Linked DNA regions of Homo sapiens: regions 1, 2, 3, 4 and 6 are each linked to region 5. Evidence: promoter capture Hi-C in 16 types of primary human blood cells and fetal thymus (Javierre and others, 2016). All regions are on one chromosome and are shown on one strand. Each heading gives the region's core, a stretch centred on a gene start or on the middle of the fragment in contact. The rest is flanking DNA. Distances are from core to core; before and after follow the strand shown.

The links. The method cuts DNA at HindIII sites, captures the fragments that hold promoters and counts their contacts. A CHiCAGO score of 5 or more calls a contact.
Region 1: a contact is called between a fragment that was not itself captured here and the fragment with the promoter of LINC02332 in region 5, in 1 of 17 cell types (total B cells). The highest score is 5.3, in total B cells.
Region 2: a contact is called between a fragment that was not itself captured here and the fragment with the promoter of LINC02332 in region 5, in 6 of 17 cell types (total B cells, naive B cells, neutrophils and 3 more). The highest score is 8.3, in total B cells.
Region 3: a fragment that was not itself captured here is called in contact with the fragment with the promoter of LINC02332 in region 5 in 17 of 17 cell types (M0 macrophages, M2 macrophages, megakaryocytes and 14 more); the score reaches 20.9 in M0 macrophages.
Region 4: a fragment that was not itself captured here is called in contact with the fragment with the promoter of LINC02332 in region 5 in 12 of 17 cell types (total B cells, naive B cells, erythroblasts and 9 more); the score reaches 16.2 in total B cells.
Region 6: the fragment with the promoter of PRMT5 here is called in contact with the fragment with the promoter of LINC02332 in region 5 in 1 of 17 cell types (total B cells); the score reaches 5.5 in total B cells.

Annotation. Positions count from the first base shown.
Region 1 is chr14:22,231,433-22,234,362 of GRCh38, reverse strand. It overlaps TRA. Among named protein-coding and RNA genes, the nearest start is that of TRD-AS1, 250 kb to the left of the region's middle. The HindIII fragment of the contact is 1,617 bases long and covers 872-2,488 here.
Region 2 is chr14:22,886,139-22,889,349 of GRCh38, reverse strand. REM2 (RRAD and GEM like GTPase 2) reads right to left here. Exons shown (of 5, transcript NM_173527.3): 4 at 3,119-3,211; 5 at 1,672-2,736. The coding sequence ends at 2,441. Among named protein-coding and RNA genes, the nearest start is that of REM2, 4.5 kb to the right of the region's middle. RefSeq lists an enhancer at 913-1,012 and silencers at 2,243-2,572, 2,813-2,882. The HindIII fragment of the contact is 5,549 bases long and covers 1-3,211 here.
Region 3 is chr14:22,856,549-22,859,427 of GRCh38, reverse strand. No RefSeq gene overlaps it. Among named protein-coding and RNA genes, the nearest start is that of LRP10, 14 kb to the left of the region's middle. The HindIII fragment of the contact is 4,412 bases long and covers 1-2,879 here.
Region 4 is chr14:22,910,419-22,913,314 of GRCh38, reverse strand. It overlaps RBM23 (RNA binding motif protein 23), which reads left to right. Exons shown (of 14, transcript NM_001077351.2): 2 at 1,912-1,987. The coding sequence starts at 1,922. Among named protein-coding and RNA genes, the nearest start is that of RBM23, 7.3 kb to the left of the region's middle. The HindIII fragment of the contact is 1,288 bases long and covers 852-2,139 here.
Region 5 is chr14:22,555,755-22,558,657 of GRCh38, reverse strand. It overlaps LINC02332 (long intergenic non-protein coding RNA 2332), which reads left to right and starts at 1,596. Exons shown (of 3, transcript NR_146543.1): 1 at 1,596-1,707; 2 at 1,805-1,866; 3 at 2,136-2,347. LOC105370399 (a long non-coding RNA gene) reads right to left here and starts at 2,092. Exons shown (of 2, transcript XR_007064066.1): 1 at 1,092-2,092. RefSeq lists enhancers at 991-1,200, 2,061-2,400, 2,451-2,550 and a silencer at 1,901-1,950. The HindIII fragment of the contact is 9,123 bases long and covers 1-2,903 here.
Region 6 is chr14:22,928,020-22,931,032 of GRCh38, reverse strand. It overlaps PRMT5 (protein arginine methyltransferase 5), which reads left to right and starts at 1,657. Exons shown (of 17, transcript NM_006109.5): 1 at 1,657-1,781; 2 at 2,418-2,536; 3 at 2,822-2,907. The coding sequence starts at 1,672. PRMT5-DT (PRMT5 divergent transcript) reads right to left here and starts at 1,424. Exons shown (of 3, transcript NR_110002.1): 1 at 1,281-1,424. TRR-ACG1-3 (tRNA-Arg (anticodon ACG) 1-3) reads right to left here and starts at 1,332; the gene lies at 1,260-1,332. RefSeq lists a silencer at 1,204-1,293 and an enhancer at 1,704-1,813. The HindIII fragment of the contact is 19,261 bases long and covers 1-2,849 here.

The DNA of each region.
Region 1 (2,930 bases), core at 431-2,930, 320 kb after region 5:
GCAAGTACATACACTAAATAATTTCATACTTTCAGTTTTGCATCAAAACTTCCAGTTTTTATCTATGTGCTTCATTCATTCGATATTAGTGTGAGCATATGGTTATTATAGGAACTCTATGTTTTCTCTAACTGTATGTCAAGAGCATTACTATGTTTTTAGTATTATTAACTCATTAAATAGTTGTAAAGTATTCAGTCAAGTTGCCATCCAAATTCCTCTAACTGGTTGAGAAATTTTTACTATTTTCTTGCCTAGAGGGTTTTTTCTACTTAAAATCAATCTTTAATATAAATTCTGAGAAATGGATCAAAGGTGTTCATTCAGTTTCAAACAGTTCAAAGGCATGAACTGTTTAATGAATCTCAAAATCCCTTTCCAAGTAATTCACTGTGTAAAAGATTGTACCAATATATTGTGTTGCTACCAGCAGGGTGTGAAAATAACTTTGCACAAACTGAAAATGAAAAAGATTACATATTTTATTTTATGCATTAGTGAATGTTTCCCATAGTTCATTGTTTTTAAAAGTTAGTTTTAAACAGATCTTTGAAAATTATTCTCTAATAAAAGTATTTTTCACTTTTTTATAAAAGAAATTATTGTGATATTATTTGCATATTTGTCCCAACCCACATCTTATGTTGAATTATAATCCCCAATGGTGGAGGTGGGGCCTGGGGGGAAATATGTGGATCATGAGGGCAGATCCCTCATGACTTGGTGCTGTCTTTGCAATAGTGAGTGAGTTCTCACAAGATCTAGTCATTTAAAAGTGTGTGGCTCCTCCCCCTCACTCTCTCTGTCTTGTGTCTGTTCTGGCCATGTGACATGCCTGCTCCCCTTTTGCCTTCTGTCATGATTGAAAGCTTCCTTAGGCCTCCCCAGATGCCAGCACCATGCTTCCTGTAAAGCCTGAAGAGCCATAAGCCAATTAAACCTTTTTTTTAAATAAATTACCAAGTTTCAGGTATTTCTTTATAGTGGTGCATGAAAGGCCTAATAAAGCAAATTGGTACTGAGAAGTGGGGCATTACTATAAAGATACCTGAAAATGTGGAAGCAGCTTTGGAACCAGGTAACAGGCAGAGGTCTGAGAAATTTGGAGGGCTCAGAAGACAGGAAGATGAGCGAAAATTTGGAACCTCTTAGAGACTGGTTAAATGATTGTGACCAAAATGCTGATAGTGATATGGGCAATGAAGGCCAGGCTGATGAAATTTCAGATGGAAATGAGGAACTTATTGGCAATTGGAGCGAATGTCACCCATGCTATTCCTTAGCAACAAACTTGGCTGCATTGTGCCCCTGCCCTAGGGATTTGTGGAAGTTTGAACTTCAGAGTGATAATTTAGTATATCTGGTGGAAGCAATTTCTAAGCAGTGAAGCATTCAAGAGGTGACCTGGCTGCTTCTAATAACCTATGCTCAGATGCAGTAGCAAAGAAATGGCTTAAAGCTAGAACTTGTATTTTAAAAAGCAGAGTGTAAAAGTTTGGAAAATTTGTAGCCTAGCCATGTGGGAGAGAAAGAAAAAGATTTTTCAGGAAAGGAATTCAAGCAAGCCTCAAAGCAACTGCTTGCCAGAGATATTTGCATAACTAAAAGACAGCCAGATAGCCAAGACAATGGGGAAAAGGCTTCAAAGGCATTTCAGAGATGTTTGCAGCAGCCCCTCCCATCACAGGCCTTGAGGCCTAGGAGGAGAGAATGGTTTCAGGGGCCAGGTCCAGGACTCTGCTGCCCTGCACAGCCTCAAGACACTGCTCCCCACATCCTGGCCACTCTGGCTATGACCCAAAGGGGCCCAGGTACATCTCAGGCTGCCACTTTGGAGGGTGCAAGCCATAACTCTGGGCAGCTTCCATGTGGTGTTAAGCCTGCAGGCACACACAATGTAAGAGTGAAAGAGGCTTGGCAGCCTCCACCTAGATTCAAAGGATGTATGAGAAAGCCTGGGTGCCAAGGCAGAAGACTGCTGCATGGGGAGAGCCCCCACAAATAACCTCTACTAGGGCAGTGTGGAGGGGAAATAGGAGTTGGAGGCCCCACACAGAATCCTCACTGAAGCACTGCCTAGTAGAGCTGTGGGAAAGGGGTCACCATCTTCCAGATCCCAGAATAGTACATCCACTGGCAGCTTGCACCCTGTGTCTGGAAAAGCCAGACACTCAACAACCTATGAGAGAAGCTGTGGGGGTGGCACCCTGCAAAGCCACAGAGGTGGAGTTGCCCAACGCCTTGGGAGCCCACCTCTTGAACCAGTGTGTCCTGGATGTGAGACATGGAGTCTAAGGAGATTATCTTGGAGCTTTAAGATTTAATGGCTGCCTTGCTGGGTTTTGAACTTGTATGAGACCTGTGGCCCCTTCTTTTGGCCAATTTCTCCCTTTCGAAATGGGAATGTTGACCCAATGTGTATACTCACATTATATCTTGGGAGTAAATAACTTGTTTTTGACTTTACAGACTCATTGGTGGAAAAGCTTGACTTGTCTCAGATGAGACTTGGGACTTTTGAGTTAATTCTGGAATTTGTTAAAACTTTGGAGGACTATTGGGAAGGTATGATTGTGTTTTGCAATGTGAGAAGGAGATGAGACTTAGGAGGGATCAAGAGTGGAATGATATAGTTTGGATATTTGTCCCCATCCAAATCATGTTGAATTGTATTCCTCAGTGCTAGAGGTGGGGCCTGGGGGGAGGTGTTTGTATCATGGAGGTGGGATCCCTTATGGCTTGGTGCTGTCTTTGCTTTAGTGAGTGAGTTCTCACAAGATCTGGTTTAAATAAAGTGTGTTGCATCTTCCCCCTCACTCTCTCTCATTTGCTCCTGCTCTGGCCATGTGACATGCCTGCTCCCCCTTTGCCTTCCACCATGATTATAAGCTTCCTGGGGCCTTCTGAGAAGCCAACCAGATGCCAGCACC
Region 2 (3,211 bases), core at 208-2,707, 330 kb before region 5:
AAACAGGTAGTAACACCTTATATAGGTTTTTTTTTTTTGCTTGTTTGTTTTTTGAGATGGAGTCTCACTCTGTCGCCCAGGCTGGAGTGCAGTGGCACGTTCTCAGCTCACTGCAACCTCTGCCTTCTGGGTTCAAGCTATTTTCCTGCCTCAGCCTCCCTAGTAGCTGGGATTACAGGCGCCTGCCACCACGCCCAGCTAATTTTTGCACTTTTTAGTAGAGATGGGGTTTCACCATATTGGCCAGCTTGGTCTCGAACTCCTGACCTTGTGATCCACCCACCTTGGCCTCCCAAAGTGCTGGGATTACAGGTGTGAGCCATGGCGCCCGGCCCTTTTTTTTTTTTTTTTAAAGAGACAAGTTCTCGTTCTATCACCCAGGCTGGAAGGCAGTGATTGCAGCTCACTTCAGCCTTGAACTCCTGGGCTCAAGTAATCCTCCCACTTCCTGAGTAGCTAGGACTACAGGTGCACTGCTTTTTTTTTTTTTTTTTTTTTTTTTTTTTTTGACAGGGTCTTGCTCTGTTGCCCGTGCTGCAGTGCAGTGGTACAATCACAGCTCACTGCAGCCTTAACTTCCTGGCTCAAGGGTTCCTCCCAGCTCAGCCTCTCAAGTAGCTGGGACTATCTGAATGACACCACACCCAGCTAATTTTTTGTAAAGACAGGGTTTTGCCATGTTGCCCAGGCTGGTTTCAAACTTCTGAACTGAAATGATCCTCCTGCCTCAGCCTCCCAAAGTGCTGGGATTACAGGTGTGAGCCACATGCCTGGCCAATTTTTATATTTTTTTTTGTAGAAACTGGCTCTCACTATGTTTCCCAGGCTGGACCTTATATAGTCTTTAAGGAATTAACAGATAAAGTGTATAAAGTCCTAAGGATAGGGCCATTATTCATCTTATTATAAGTACCCATGCTGGGATGGTCCCCTTGGCTCCTCCCCAGCTACAAGGACTCAGGAAGCATTGCAACCCTCTTTCCATCAAGTTCTGGGAGGCTGTGTGGGGTAGAATGGAGGCTGGCCCTCAGGTGCTCAGGTAGCTGTATTGTATGTCTAGGGGTGGTGAGGGGAGCTGCTGCCTCTGCTCCCTTTGTTCAAACTCATGGCTCAGGCAGCAGCAGGCGTGGGCGTCCCCAGGGGAGGCAGTGACAGTTTCAGTACTCACACGGGCTTTGCAGGTGACAGCTGGGGCTGTGGAGCCCTGCCAGAGGAGGCACAGACAGACCCCCATCACGCCACAGCTGATGGGCTTCCCTGGTGGATATGGGCCCCACTTTGAACCAGCCCAAGTCAAAGCTGAGTACCGCTGGGAGCTAAGTGTAGCCTCTAGCCTGTTCCCTGCAGGATAGAGTGGGGGTAAGGAGATGAGGCTCAGAATCTAGAGATTTGGTCCCACTGTGTCACTAATTTACAAATGACTTCTAGGAGGTCCCTGTTCCTCTCCAAGCCTGTTTTCTCATCGGCAAACGCAAGAAGTGGACCTGATTATCTGTAAGGGCCTGTGGCCCTATGACATGGACTACCCCAGGCCAAGTCAGTTCCAGAGCCTCCTTAGAGAGTTAGGTTCCTTGCTCCTCTGGGCCTGAGTTTTCTGGTGGGTAACAGCAGTTTCCATCAACACCCATTCCTTCCCCAAAGACTCCAAGAACAGAGTCAAAAGTGAACAGAGGCAGTACAAAAATTATTTATTGAAAAGGGAAAGGGTGGCCCCTTGCTGGTGCCCCCCTGGCCCTGGCCAAAAGGGGTTGCCACTGCTCATTATCTGAATGCAGAAAGTCTGTCCACCCCTTACCTTTAATAACCTTAAAGGGGAAGTGCCGTGGTGGACTGGTAAGTCAAGAGAATCCATCTCAGGAACAGCACTTCCAGGCCCTTGCCTTTAAGAACTCCTTAAAGGCAAAGTGGACACATGCCGCACCAGATGAGAGCCAGAACGTTTTCGGGAAGGTCCCTGGAGGAAGTGTTTTCGTGTCTTTACCTTTAAGACTCTCTTAAAGGTGAGGCATGTTCACGCAGCGTACAAAGGAGGCAAACTCCGTCAAGGAGTCTACGAAGCACTTTTCCAGATCTTGCTTTTAGAATCTCTTTACAGATGAGGTGGCCAAGCGCGAATTAATAAAAAACAAAATACCTTGCAGAATTATTTTTCTTCCCGACCCAGCAGAACCCGCCCCGCTCACCGGCCGCCTTCAGGTCTGCGTCCTCGCCTTCTAGGCGCCCTGAGGCCCAAAGCTCCAGAGAACGCGTTGGGGCGGGTGTGGAGGTGCCGCCGAGCGGCCCCGGGCCGCCCCCGGCGGTCACACCGGGGCATCCTGGGAGTTTTTGGTTTCCTAGACGGCCTCCACCAAGGAAGCCGGACGGGGGCGGGGCGGGGCGAGGGGGGGCGAGCGGAGGGCGCGGTGACCATGGCGACCGCAGTGGCCATGGCGACCGCGGCTCAGAGCACCGAGAGGTCGTGACACGACCTGGAGCGCTGCTTGAAGAACTTGGCGTTGCGCGGCACCAGGTTGGCGAGGAACCTCTTGGCTTTCTTGGTGAGGCTCTCGCGGCGTGCAGGTGGCGCAGGGCCCTCGGGGCTGCCCGGATCGGGCCTCTGGCCTCCGGCGTGGTTTCGGCCCCGCCGCAGCCGGATCTGGCGCACCGCGCCCTCGAAGAGCTCCCTCGTGTTGTGGTGCAGTGCGGCCGACGTCTCGATGTGCTTGCAGCTCAGCGTCCCGGCCAGGTGGCGGCCCTCTGCAGGAAGGCACCGGCTCAGGCGCCCGCTGGGCTGTACGGGACCCGGGGCGAGGGTGGGTCTAGGGAGGGCCTGGGCGTGCGGTGGCAAGGGATTGGTACTAGTGAATCTTGCAACCGAGAGAACATGGCTGAGCTCATATGGTGGGTCTGTGGAGGTGCGAAGGAGAGGGAGAAGGAGGCCTAGGAGAGAGGTGAGGGGAAGTGACAAGAAGGGATTCTCAGGATCCTCGAGTGGGGCATTGGGAGTGTCCCCCTAGCCTGGGTCTGATTGCAAGTGAGTGCGTCCGCGATGGTAAAAAGGCCTTAGGGAGAAGAGGTGACTTGGAAGGGAGAGCATTCCCCTGAGATCGCAAGTATGGAATCTGTTCAGGATACACACCCTCCAGTGATACCTCCCGGGAGCGGGCCAAGTCGCTCTTGTTTCCAACGAGGATAACGGGTAGGTCGTGGTGCGGCCTCCCAGCCCGGAGCC
Region 3 (2,879 bases), core at 320-2,819, 300 kb before region 5:
ACGCCCGGCTAATTTTTTTGTATTTTTAGTAGAGACAGTGTTTCACTATATTGGCCAGGCTGGTCATGAACTCCTGACCTTGTGATCCGCCTGCCTTGGACTCCCAAAGTGCTGGGAGCCACCGCACCAGGCCCATGCCCACTAATTTTAAAAATTTTTTTGTAGGATGGGACCATGCTATGTTGTCCAGGCTGGTCTTGAACTCCTGGCCTTAAGCAATCCTCCCACCTCGACCTTCTAGAGTTCTGGGATTACAGGTGTGACCCACCATGCCTGGCTCTTAAGATTCTTAAAAACTATATCGTTAGGCTGGGTGCTGTGGCTCATACCTGTAATCCCAGCACTTTGGGAGGCCGAGGTGGGTAGATCACATGAGGTCAGGAGTTTGAAACAGCCTGGCCAACATGGTGAAACCCTGTCTGTACTAAAAATACAAAAATTAGCCAGACATGGTGGTACGTTCCTGTAGTCCCAGCTACTCGGGAGGCCGAGGCAGGAGAATTGTTTGGACCCAGGAGGCGGAGGTTGCAGTGAGCTAAGATCATGCCACTGCACTCCAGCCTGGGTGACAGAGTGAGACTCTGTCTCAAAAAAAACCAAAACCAAAACCAAAAACCAAAAACCCCAAAAACCATATTGTTAGACTAAATGGTTTCCTGAGTACCACCTTAGATCCTTCTGATATTAACAAAGCATGTTACACTCAATCTTGGCTTTGTCTTTATACCATGTTTTCCTGAGAGTGCCCTGAATTTGATACTTGCCCAGAAGCTATTTAAAAAATTTAACATCATTTACTGTCTGGAGAGGCTGAGAATTTTAAAATCCAAAAATTCCTGGCTCTCTTTTTGTTTTTCTTTTGAGACGGAGTCTTGCTCTGTCGCCAGGCTGGAGTGCGATGGCGAGATCTCGGCTCACTACAACCTCCGCCTCCTGGGTTCAAGTGATTCTCCCGCCTCAGCCTCCCGAGAGTTGGGACTACAGGTGAGCGCCACCATGCCCAGCTAATTTTTGTATTTTTAGTAGAAACGGGGTTTTACCATGTTGGCTAGGATGGTCTTGATCTCTTGACCTTGTGATCTGCTCGCCTTGGCCTCCCAAAGTGCCTGGATTACAAGCGTGAGCCACCATGCCCGGCCTCCTGGCTCTTTTTAAGTGGTATTTTTTTTTCTTAGCTATCTATCTCGCACTTTACTATAAGCAGCAAAGAAGAAACCAGGTGTTAACTTCAACATTCTCCCTGAAAATCTCCTTAGCTAGATTTCCCATTCATTAATTACATTTTTTACTTTCCATGTTACTACACACTAACTATAGTTGCTAAACTTGCTGAATAACGAGAATCCTTTTTCTTCCAGTTTCTTTTTTTCTTTCTTTTTTTTTTTTTTTTTTGAGATGGAGTCTTGCTCTGTTGCCCAGGCTGGAGTGCAGTGGCACGATCTCAGCTCACTGCAAGCTCCGCCTCCCGGGTTCATGCCATTCTCCTGCCTCAGCCTCCCGAGTAACTGGGACTACAGGTGCCCACCACCAGACCTGGCTAATTTTTTGTATTTTTAGTAGAGATGGGGTTTCACTGTGTTAGCCAGGATGGTCTCAATCTCCTGACCTCGTGATCCGCCTGCTTCGGCCTCCCAAAGTGCTGGGATTAGAGGCGTGAGCCACCGCGCCCGGCCTCTTCCAGTTTTAAAACACATTTTCCTCACTTTCCTTAAGTCTTCACTGGCCGCCTCTTCAAAGACCATCATGTCTGGGTATGGTGGCTTGTGCCTATAATCTCAGTGACTTAGGATCAGTTGAGGCCAGGAATTTGAAATCAGCCTGGGCAACATAGCAAGACCCTGTCTTTAAAAAAAAAAAAAAAGAGGCCACTGTGGTTCTACTAACTGTCGCGTCCAGGCATTTTAGACTTTCACTAACACTCTTCTCAAAGTCTTTCCAGCTTCTGCCCTTTGCCGAATTTCAAAGTCATTCTTACATTTTAGTTGTTTGTCACAGCAGCACTCCACTTTTAGTACCCAAACCTATTAGTTATCTATTGCTGAATGAGAAATCATCCCAAAATTTCACAGCTTAAAATATAAAATAAACATTTATTGTTGTAATCATTTTATATTGGCCAGGAATTTGAAAGTGACTTACCTAGATGAACCTGGCTTAGGATCTCTCATTAGGTTGCAGTCCAAATGTTGGCCAGGACAGTAATCATCTGAAGGTTTGACCGTGGCTGGAGGATCTGCCTCCAAGATGGCTCACTCATATGCCTGGCAAGTTCATGCTGGCTGTTGGCAGGAGGCCTCAGTTCCTTACCTGTGGACCTCTCTATAAGACTTCTTGAGTGTCCTGCAGCATGGCAGCTAGCTTTCTTCAAAATGAGTGATCCAAAAGACAGCAAAACATATTTTTGATTTTAGATTTTAGATTTTTATAATGTCTTTTATTGCTTATTATTCTTGGAAGTCACACACTGTCACTGCTGCCAGACTCCATTAGAAACAAGTCACTGGCCAGGCAGGGTGGCTCACACCTGTTATCCCAGCACTTTGGGAGGCTGAGGCAGGTGGATCACCTGAGGTCAGGAGTTCAAGACTAGCCTGGCCAACATGGTCAAAAATTAGCCTGGTGTGGTGGCATGTGCCTGTAGTTCCAGCTACTCTAGAGGCTGAGGCAGAATTGTTTGAACCCGGGAGTCGGAGATTGCAGTGAGTGGAGATCACGCCACTGCACTCCCAGCCTGGGTGACAGAGCAAGACTCTATCTCAAAAGAAAAATAAATAAAAAAATATTTATTTAATATATAATAATAATGAGTATTTATAATAATATATAATAATAATGAGTATTTACACTGTACTAAAATACCACGTCCTTCCTTTACGCCA
Region 4 (2,896 bases), core at 246-2,745, 350 kb before region 5:
AGCCTCCCGAGTAGCTGGGACTACAAGCACCCGCCACCACGCCCGGCTAATATTTTGTATTTTTAGTAGAGACAGGGTTTCACTGTGTTAGCCAGGATGGTCTCGATCTCCTGACCTCGTGATCCGCCCGCCTCGGCCTCCCAAAGTGCTGGGATTACAAGCATGAGCCACCGCGCCCGGCCTTCTTGTGCCCTTTTAAAATCTTTTTCTCCCAGCCCTTCCCCTTACTTCTATCCCTAGGCAACCATTGATGTGCTTTCTGCTTTCTTTGATATAGTGATTAGTTTGCTTTTTTTTTTTTTTTTTTTTTTTTTTTGAGACTGAATCTCACTCTGTCTCCAGGTTGGAGTGCAGTGGCACAATCTTGGCTAACTGCAACCTCCGCCTCCTGGGTTCAAGTGATACTCCTGCCTCAGCCTCCCGAGTAGCTGGGCCTACAGGCGCGTGCCACCACGTCCAGCTAATTTTTGTATTTTTAGTAGAGACGGGGTTTCACCATGTTGGCCTAGATGGTCTCGATATGTTGACCTCGTCGTTGACCTCGTGATCTGCCCGCCTCGGCCTCCCAAAGTGCTGGGATTACAGGCATGAGCCACCGCGCCTGGCCTAGTTTGCATTTTTTAGAATTTTATGTAAATGGAATTGTTCATTGTGTACTTTTTGTGGGGGGGGCTGGTTTCTGTCACTCCGTGTAATTATTTTGAGATTCATCCATGTGTGGGTTGATAATTCCAGACCAATAACATTTGAATAATTTATCCTATTGGTTTTCTTTGGTATTTTCTGTTTTTCTTATTTGACAAACTGGTGGTAGACAGCCTGGGGAGAGGCAGTTTCTAGATGTGAAAGCTTGGGGAGGCACGTTTTACCTTGCCTGCCAGAGAGAAAGGTTTCAAGATGGGATTAGTCGAGCCTGTCTTAATCATCATATTTCTGAGTTACCTAAACTGTAGTTGGTATTGGTTAGAAAATGCTCAGGGATAAGGCCCTAATTATTGGTGTTCAGGGTATGCGGAGAGGAAGACGTTAGGGCAAATCTGCATTTTGGTGTTGCTTTGACTTGCTTCTGATTTTTAGTCGTGCCTCTTTATCTTTTTATTGGACATAATGTGCCTATATTTGTTTATTATTTTTTCGTTTTATATTTTTCTCACATCTGTAGCAGCCAGGCCTGTTTTTATTATTTGAGTTTAAACCAGGTATTTATTCAGAATTTTGAACAGTAGAGTGGAGACCTAATGTCTATTTTATAGTGAACAGTAGTTTGGCCACCATCATTTTCTCTTCATAGAACAGGATCAGTGTTGTATTTTGTTTCTTCCTAGATACTCAGTTTTCTTCTATATCCTTGACTATTTTTTTATGTATTGTTTTTTGTGTTTTTTGTTTGTTTGTTTTGTTTTTGAGACAGGGTCACACATTGCTGCCCAGGCTGGAGTACAGTGGCGTGATCTTGGCTCACTGCAACCTCCACCTTTTGGGTTCAAGTGATTCTCCTGCCTCAGCCTCCTGAGTAGCTGGGATTACAGGTGTGTGCCACCACACCCAGCTAATTTTTATATTTTTGGTAGAGGGGGTTTCGCCATGTTGGCCAGGCTGGTCTCAAACTCCTGACCTCAGGTGATCTGCCTGCCTTGCCCTCCCAGAGTGCTAGGATTACAGGTGTGAGCCACTGCGCCCGGACTATCCTTGACTGTTCCAAGCCACAAAGTCGAACTAGTTCAGATCTATAGGGTGTAAAAATAAACCTAGAGTAAGTGACAGCTGGTAAGGTTTCTTTGCAGTTCAAGAAACAGAACTGAAATCTGTATATCCTGAAGTCTCTTTCTTGGAGTGGGAAAGAAATGTGTGGTGCTGGAAAGGGAGGAAAAATATAAAACAGATTCTTACATATTAATATCCTCTCCCCAGATCTGACAGGATGGCATCTGATGACTTTGACATAGTGATTGAGGCCATGCTGGAAGCTCCCTATAAAAAAGAAGAGGTAATATTTTCCACCTCACTCCTGGAATTGGGTTAATGAGAAAGAGTAGTTGTCGATCATCACTTTCAACTTTCAACATTTTATGAATCCTCTTTCCCTGCTTATTTATTATGTAGAATAACTAATCATAAAAGGCATAGTCTTAGTAAGCTTTGCTGGAGACTATGGTTAAGAGCCATACTTTTAGAGACAACCTCAGAAACCGGAGTGGGCACATAATGTGGTGTTGGTAATCTGTGCTTTGCTCAAAACTCGAAGTGACACAGTAGAAAGTCACTGTACCTCAGACCTAGCACCAATTTCTTTTTTTTTTCTTTTGAGACAGAGTCTCGCTCTGTTGCCAGGCTGGAGTGCAGTGGCACAATCTTGGCTCACTGCAACCTCCGCCTCCTGGGTTCAAGCCATTCTCATGCCTCAGCGTCCCAAGTAGCTAGGATTATAGGCAAGCACCACCATGCCCAGCTAATTTTTGTATTTTTAGTAGAGACGGGGTTTCACCATGTTGGCCAGGATGGTCTTGATCTCCTGACCTTATGATCCACCCACCTTGGCCTTCCAAAGTAATGGGATTACAGGCGTGAGCCACTGCGCCCGTCCCAGTTTCTTTTTTAATATATTTTTTATAGAGACAGGGTCTTGCTATGTTGCCTGGGCTGGTCTCGAGCTCCCAGGCTCAAGCGATCTGCCTTGGCCTCCCAAAGTGCTGGGATTACAGGAGTGAGCCACTGCACCTGGCCCACTTAACAGCAATTTGCTTGCTTGCTTGCTTGCTTTTCCCTCCCTCTGCCCTCTCCTCCCATCCCTCCCTCCTTCTCCCTTCCTTTCCCCCCCACCGCTTTCTTTTTTCCTTTCTTTTTTTTTTTTTTTTTTTTTTTTTGAGATGAAGTTTCACTCATTGCCCAGGCTGGA
Region 5 (2,903 bases), core at 347-2,846:
TGAGGAGTCAGGGAGGCCGTGAGCACTGTGGGGCCAGAAGTGTTGGCTTCTGTCAGAAACTCGGCCCAGCCTGACCGCTGCCTCCTGGCCCTGTCATTTCCCCTCCATCACGCGCTTCCTTCTGGAAGCCGGAAGCAGGAGGTGGGAAGCTGCGGAGGTAGTGACAAAATCATGGTGTAACAAGAAGCTCCTAGGGCCGAAGTGACTGGAGAGGTGGCCACATACTATGAGAAACACCAGCGCACCGGCAGGGCCTGGGGAGTTCTGAGCTCTCCCGGGCTGTGTGAAGCCGCAGCCAGCCCACTTTTTTCTCAGTATGGCAGTGCCATCTGACCTGGCCCAGCCCATCTTGTTCGGGTCATGGTTCGTCTTCCTGGGCATTCTGATGCATTCCCACTTCATATTTGCACTGGGATTTCAGTTTACTAAGCATTCCACACCCATTACTGCTTTCAATCCCTTCAACAACACTGAGAATAGGTGGGCAGGTATTTTTATCTCTATGTGAATAATAACACATGGGGACTCAGAAAAATTAAAGGCCCCAGGAGAGAAGGCTAGTGAGGGGCAGTGACGCTTAGGGACAAACAACTGGTTCTCCTGCCTCCTGCCTGAGGACTCCTGCCTGAGGAGAATATAGTAACAAAAGCCTCTGTCTTGCAATTGCAGCCATTAACACATCTCTTTCATACCCACTACTCACTGGACTGTTAACTCCTTGAAGACAGAAACTCTGTGTGTGTGTGTGTGTGTGTGTGTGTGTGTATTTAATGGGAGCAGTACTTTCTTGAGGCATAATTACATGAAAATACACTAATGATGCATTTGATATATATATAGCCATCACCCAAGATAAAGATATGGAACATTTCCACCACCCCTGAAGGTTTCCTCGTGCCCCTTTTCAATCCATCCTTCTACCCCAGAGGCAAACAGTGCCCTAATTTCTATCACCTGTGATGCGTTTTGCCTGTTCTTGGACTTCATCTGTATGGAGTCATAGTTTGCACAGAGACTGAATCCCCAGAGCACGACACAGCCTGGCACATGGCAGGTATACAATGCCAAAGAAAGCCTGGTTCTTAAACTACCTGTGAGAGAGAGTTCGTCCCACCGGGAAACTGAGGCGGTGGGCGGTTAGTGACCTGCCAAAGGCACGAGTGTATGATGTGGTGGATCCCGGACTCCAGCCAGCCTAATTCCGAACCCAAGGCCTCCTCCGGGCCCCCAGCCCTCCCTGGGCACTTCCTCCAGGGCTCCGGGTGGAGCGGGTCTGACGATCCCGGACGAACAGCGCCCCCTGCTGCCGGCCCAGGCCCCAGGCCCTCCTCTCCTTTGGGGGGGGATGTGACAGGATGACACAGGCCTTGCGCCCAGCGCAGTGACGGGCACAGGGCAGGGACTTGTGGGATAAAAGTCACCTGCCCTTTTATTTTCCTCGGAAAAGAGCTTTTCCTAAACTTTGGGGGCTTTCTATCTCCAGAATTAACAGACAAAGGGAGAAGAGGTCTTTTTGGTGGAGCGCTGCTGCCCCCATGCGGGTGGATGGCGACACTACCGAAGAGCAGGCGATCAAGCCTGGTATTTTTGGGTTTCAGGTTCTGCGGCTCCCTGAGACCAGCAGATTCCTGGTCTCCGGGTCCCTGGGTCCCGGACGTGTCCATCAAGGCGTCCATTAGGGCCATCACCTAATGGACAAGCATCAGGGTAAGGGGGGAGGTGCTATTGGGGGGGGGTCCCTCAGAGAATCAGCCCTAGCTCTGTGTGGGGGCAAATACGGCCTCCCCACCTCCTTCCCTCCCAGGAGACACTGGCCTGAGCATAAGTCTCGAGGGTCTGCCCTGTACTAAGCAAGCGCTTAATCAGGTGAGATCAAGGTCTGATCTTGGCTGGTTTGGAGGGGCAGCAGAGGTGCGGTGAGGGAGGCGGCTCAGCGGTGGGGCCAGCAGCACCTCCCCAGCCTGCTTGCGGGCCCGGTGCAAGTCACCGAGGGGCCGGCAGCCCCTCCCAGCCTGGCATGTTGGCCTTGCTGCACCTGCGGTTGGGGGGTGGTGTAACGGCCCAGCCTGCTCCCCTCGGCACGTGGCCTGGGGCGATGCTATCTCTAACTCAGTATTTTAAACTCTTCTTTCCAGAGGATGTGGCTTCTGCGGGAGAGCTTCAAAGGGTGCCCTACTTGCCCCTCTTGGTAACCATGACGTCATGGAAATGGGAGGGGACCGCCCCAGCCCCCAAACACCTGGAGGGAAGTGGGAGACTTTTTCCACTTCCTGTTCTACTTGTGGCTACTGACTCAATGTCTGACCTGTTTATTAATTGCAAAATATAGCTCTATGTGTGCTACCCAGAGAGGCCTCAGGCCTGTGTGTCTCTGTGTGAAAGGAGGCCTGCACTCCCCACCCCTCGCCGCGTTGCCCAGGTGGCCTTGACACAGACGCAGGGCGCTGGTGGTCCTGCAGCCTTCCGGCAGCCAGAATGACAGCACTGGGTCTCCATGTGCTTGCTCCCCCAGACTCATCCCAGTCAGAAGCTCGTCTTCCCACACATGGCTCACGGAGGTAGATGGGTTTTAGAGTAGGACTCATGGAGAAACTGAGGCGAACCCACATAAAGTGACTGTTGGCTCTGGACCTCAGTGTGGTCACACAGTGAGGTCAGACTCCCAGGTACCCTGCGTGATTTACCACAGTCCCTGTCCTCCAGGCTTTGTTGGATAGATGTGTGCCTGCCTGGGGGCTGCCCTGAGCAAGGGGCCACCACTCAGGCTTTCCTTGTTCTGAAGTTCTTGACAAGTTACTTTAGCTCTTGGCAAAACTGTGAAGCATTGACTCACCTGACCACTTCCTCTACTAATCCCCACTTTCCTTTCTCCTGTACTCCCCACTCCTCACACTCAGCTCCCC
Region 6 (3,013 bases), core at 408-2,907, 370 kb before region 5:
CTTTCCTTTCCTCCTCCCCCTGCCCCGACATTATTTTGCTCTTGTTGCCCAGGCTGGAGTGCAGTGGCGTGATCTTGGCTCACTGCAACCTCCGCCTGCCGGGTTCAAGCAGTTCTCCTGCTTCAGCCTCCCGAGTAGCTGGCCGAGTAGCTGGGATTACAGGCGCCTGCTACCACGTTTAGGAGAGACGGGGAGTTTTCATGTTGGCCAGGCTGGTCTCGAACTCCTGACCTCAGGAGATCCACCCGCCTCCGCTTTCCAAAGTGCTGGGATTACAGGCGTGAGCCACCGCGCCCGGCCGGTTTTCCGGCTTTCATTCTTTTGGGGCACTTGCATTGCACCCAGGGTTCCCCAGAACTTATCCTACCCCACACCCTTTTCGTATTTCCTATGGCTCTGTCCCCAACGAGCTATGGTGATCTCAGTCGCATGGCCTCAGTTCTTTTCTTCTAGCGACCTCCATCCAACTTTCTATTACACAGCGCCCCCTAGACGTTCAATTCAGCATGACCAAACCCAAACCCTGATTTCCCAAACCCTCTTTCCGCATTTCTTGCTCACTGCATGGACAGAATCCTAGGCATCACCCCCTACTTTGCTTTCTCAGGACTCCTTGCCAGTCGGTCCCTAAGTTCTGCCAGCGGCGCCTGCGTGGGGTCTCTTGTACCGTGTTCTCCTCTCCATCCTTGCTGCCGAGCCCTCAACACCAGTGGGCCCCCTGCCTTCTGGAGTTCCCATTTACCTCCCTATGTCTTTCCTTGCTTCCTTCCTTTCCATCTCTAGCAGCTAATGACATGAGAAAATGTAGATTCTCTCTGGCCTCCATGCCAGCCAATTTCATGACTGCTGCCCACTGTAATTAATGAATTCCTTTTCTCTATCTTGAGGTGTGTGTGTGTGTTTAGGCGTTTATTTACACCTTTTGTGTTTGAAACACAAAACACTACTTCCTAGAATCACTAGGAAGTAGTAGCTGAGTTAGCAGTTTATTTTAATATGTAACATAGTAAGGTGACAAAGCTCATTTTAATAGCACCAGCCATTAACCCAGTTTTCTCAGTGTTCATATGGACGTAAATAATGACACAAGAAAAACACTTTTGAGGGTAGTTACGGGAAAAGCTGACATTACATGGCTGCATAACCCAACCGACTCAGGATCTGATAATGAAAGCGTGAAGATAATAAAGAAGCATCAAGCTGCGAAAGGAAAGGAAAATTACAAAATGCTCACGCAGCGAAGCTGCGAGGAACCCCACCGAGCCAGCCAGGAGTCGAACCTGGAATCTTCTGATCCGTAGTCAGACGCGTTATCCATTGCGCCACTGGCCCTGAGATGGCACTGTTTCTCTCCGTGATGGTACTTCAAGGTTATACTGCAGGGTTTCATGGGCGGTGTAGTCTCTCAACGGCGTTCTTCAGATAGACTAAGCATTCTGGGAGATTGAAGTTCGTCAGGAACCAGACCCTGAGATTGGTGGATCCATGCCGTACGCCACTGTGCAGCCCGCGGATTGGCAGGAAAAGCCACTCCCCATCCCTCCTGTTCGGGAGCTGTGGCAGACGCTCTGGTTGTTAAGGCGACTCGTCCCGCCTTCTGGGGCACTAGTTTGACTTTGTGATTGGCTACTAGTATCAAGGAATCCCGGCGTGGACAGCGCGAGGAGAAAGATGGCGGCGATGGCGGTCGGGGGTGCTGGTGGGAGCCGCGTGTCCAGCGGGAGGGACCTGAATTGCGTCCCCGAAATAGCTGACACACTAGGGGCTGTGGCCAAGCAGGGGTGAGGGCCGGACCTCCACGAGCGGAATGCGGGGTCCGAACTCGGGGACGGAGAAGGGCAGACTAGTCATCCCGGAGAAGCAGGGGTGAGGGGGTCGGCTAGGATGAGGAGGGGAGAGACTATTACTCTTTGGAGGGGAGGAGCCTCGGACCCAGTAACGTGAGGAAAATAACTTGTGGGAGGCCTGTGGTCACTGAGTCCCAAAGTTGGGAGAGTTGTTGGGTAAACTCTAAAGGGCCCTGGAGGTCGCGATTATTGTCTGGGAGTGGGAGGAGGTGTTAGGGGGCAAGGGAGAGAAGAGGCTAATTTTGACGGGGGAGGCATGGGCAGAACTGGGGCAAATCTGGATGTGATGGTCTTGGAAACATACTGACACCTGAGGAGAAAAAAATTCTACTTGTGGATATCCATCATTTTCTCCTTACTCATATGTCCCATGGCTGTGTTTTAGGGAGAAATTGAGGCACAGTACAGCAGAGTTGATATCCCCCAAGGTGGTCTGAACTCAGCAGCCTAGTAGGCTGAACTGATGGCAGCTGAAAGGGCTGTGCAAAATCAAGATAGCCTAAATCCAGTTGCTTGGCTCTCTGGCACTGCTGCTGTCTTTACATGATTCTGGGTCTGTCGCGGTTGTAGGTTTGATTTCCTCTGCATGCCTGTCTTCCATCCGCGTTTCAAGAGGGAGTTCATTCAGGAACCTGCTAAGAATCGGCCCGGTCCCCAGACACGATCAGACCTACTGCTGTCAGGAAGGGGTAGGGACCATCCCATATGCCCCTTAATTATTAGAGGCAATAACAACTTCTGCTTTATCGGGGCCCTCATTCTCCTCCTTTTCTGACTTGGATATATTTGTTAGTCCCTGGGATATAGATAACTTGTTTTCTCCTTGCTTCTCTATTCTGCATCAGGCTATCCCATGTCTATGTAGAAAAAACCTTTGTCTCTCATTTCTACTCTTGATTCCCAAAACTAAAAATTGAACAAGTAAAGTGCTGAACCTTATTCAGTATTTGTCTTTCTTGGGTGGGGGAGTGCAGACTGGAATACGCTAATTGTGGGAAAGCTTTCTCCATGGATTCGTCCAGACTCAAAAGTGGAGAAGATTCGCAGGAACTCCGAGGCGGTAAGACTGTTTGACTTCTCTGCTGGATTTTTCTAACCAAGCTGGGTGGGGAGAGTGGTCCCCTCCCATCCCCAATAACTTGGTAAATTAACTGATAGAATGAAAT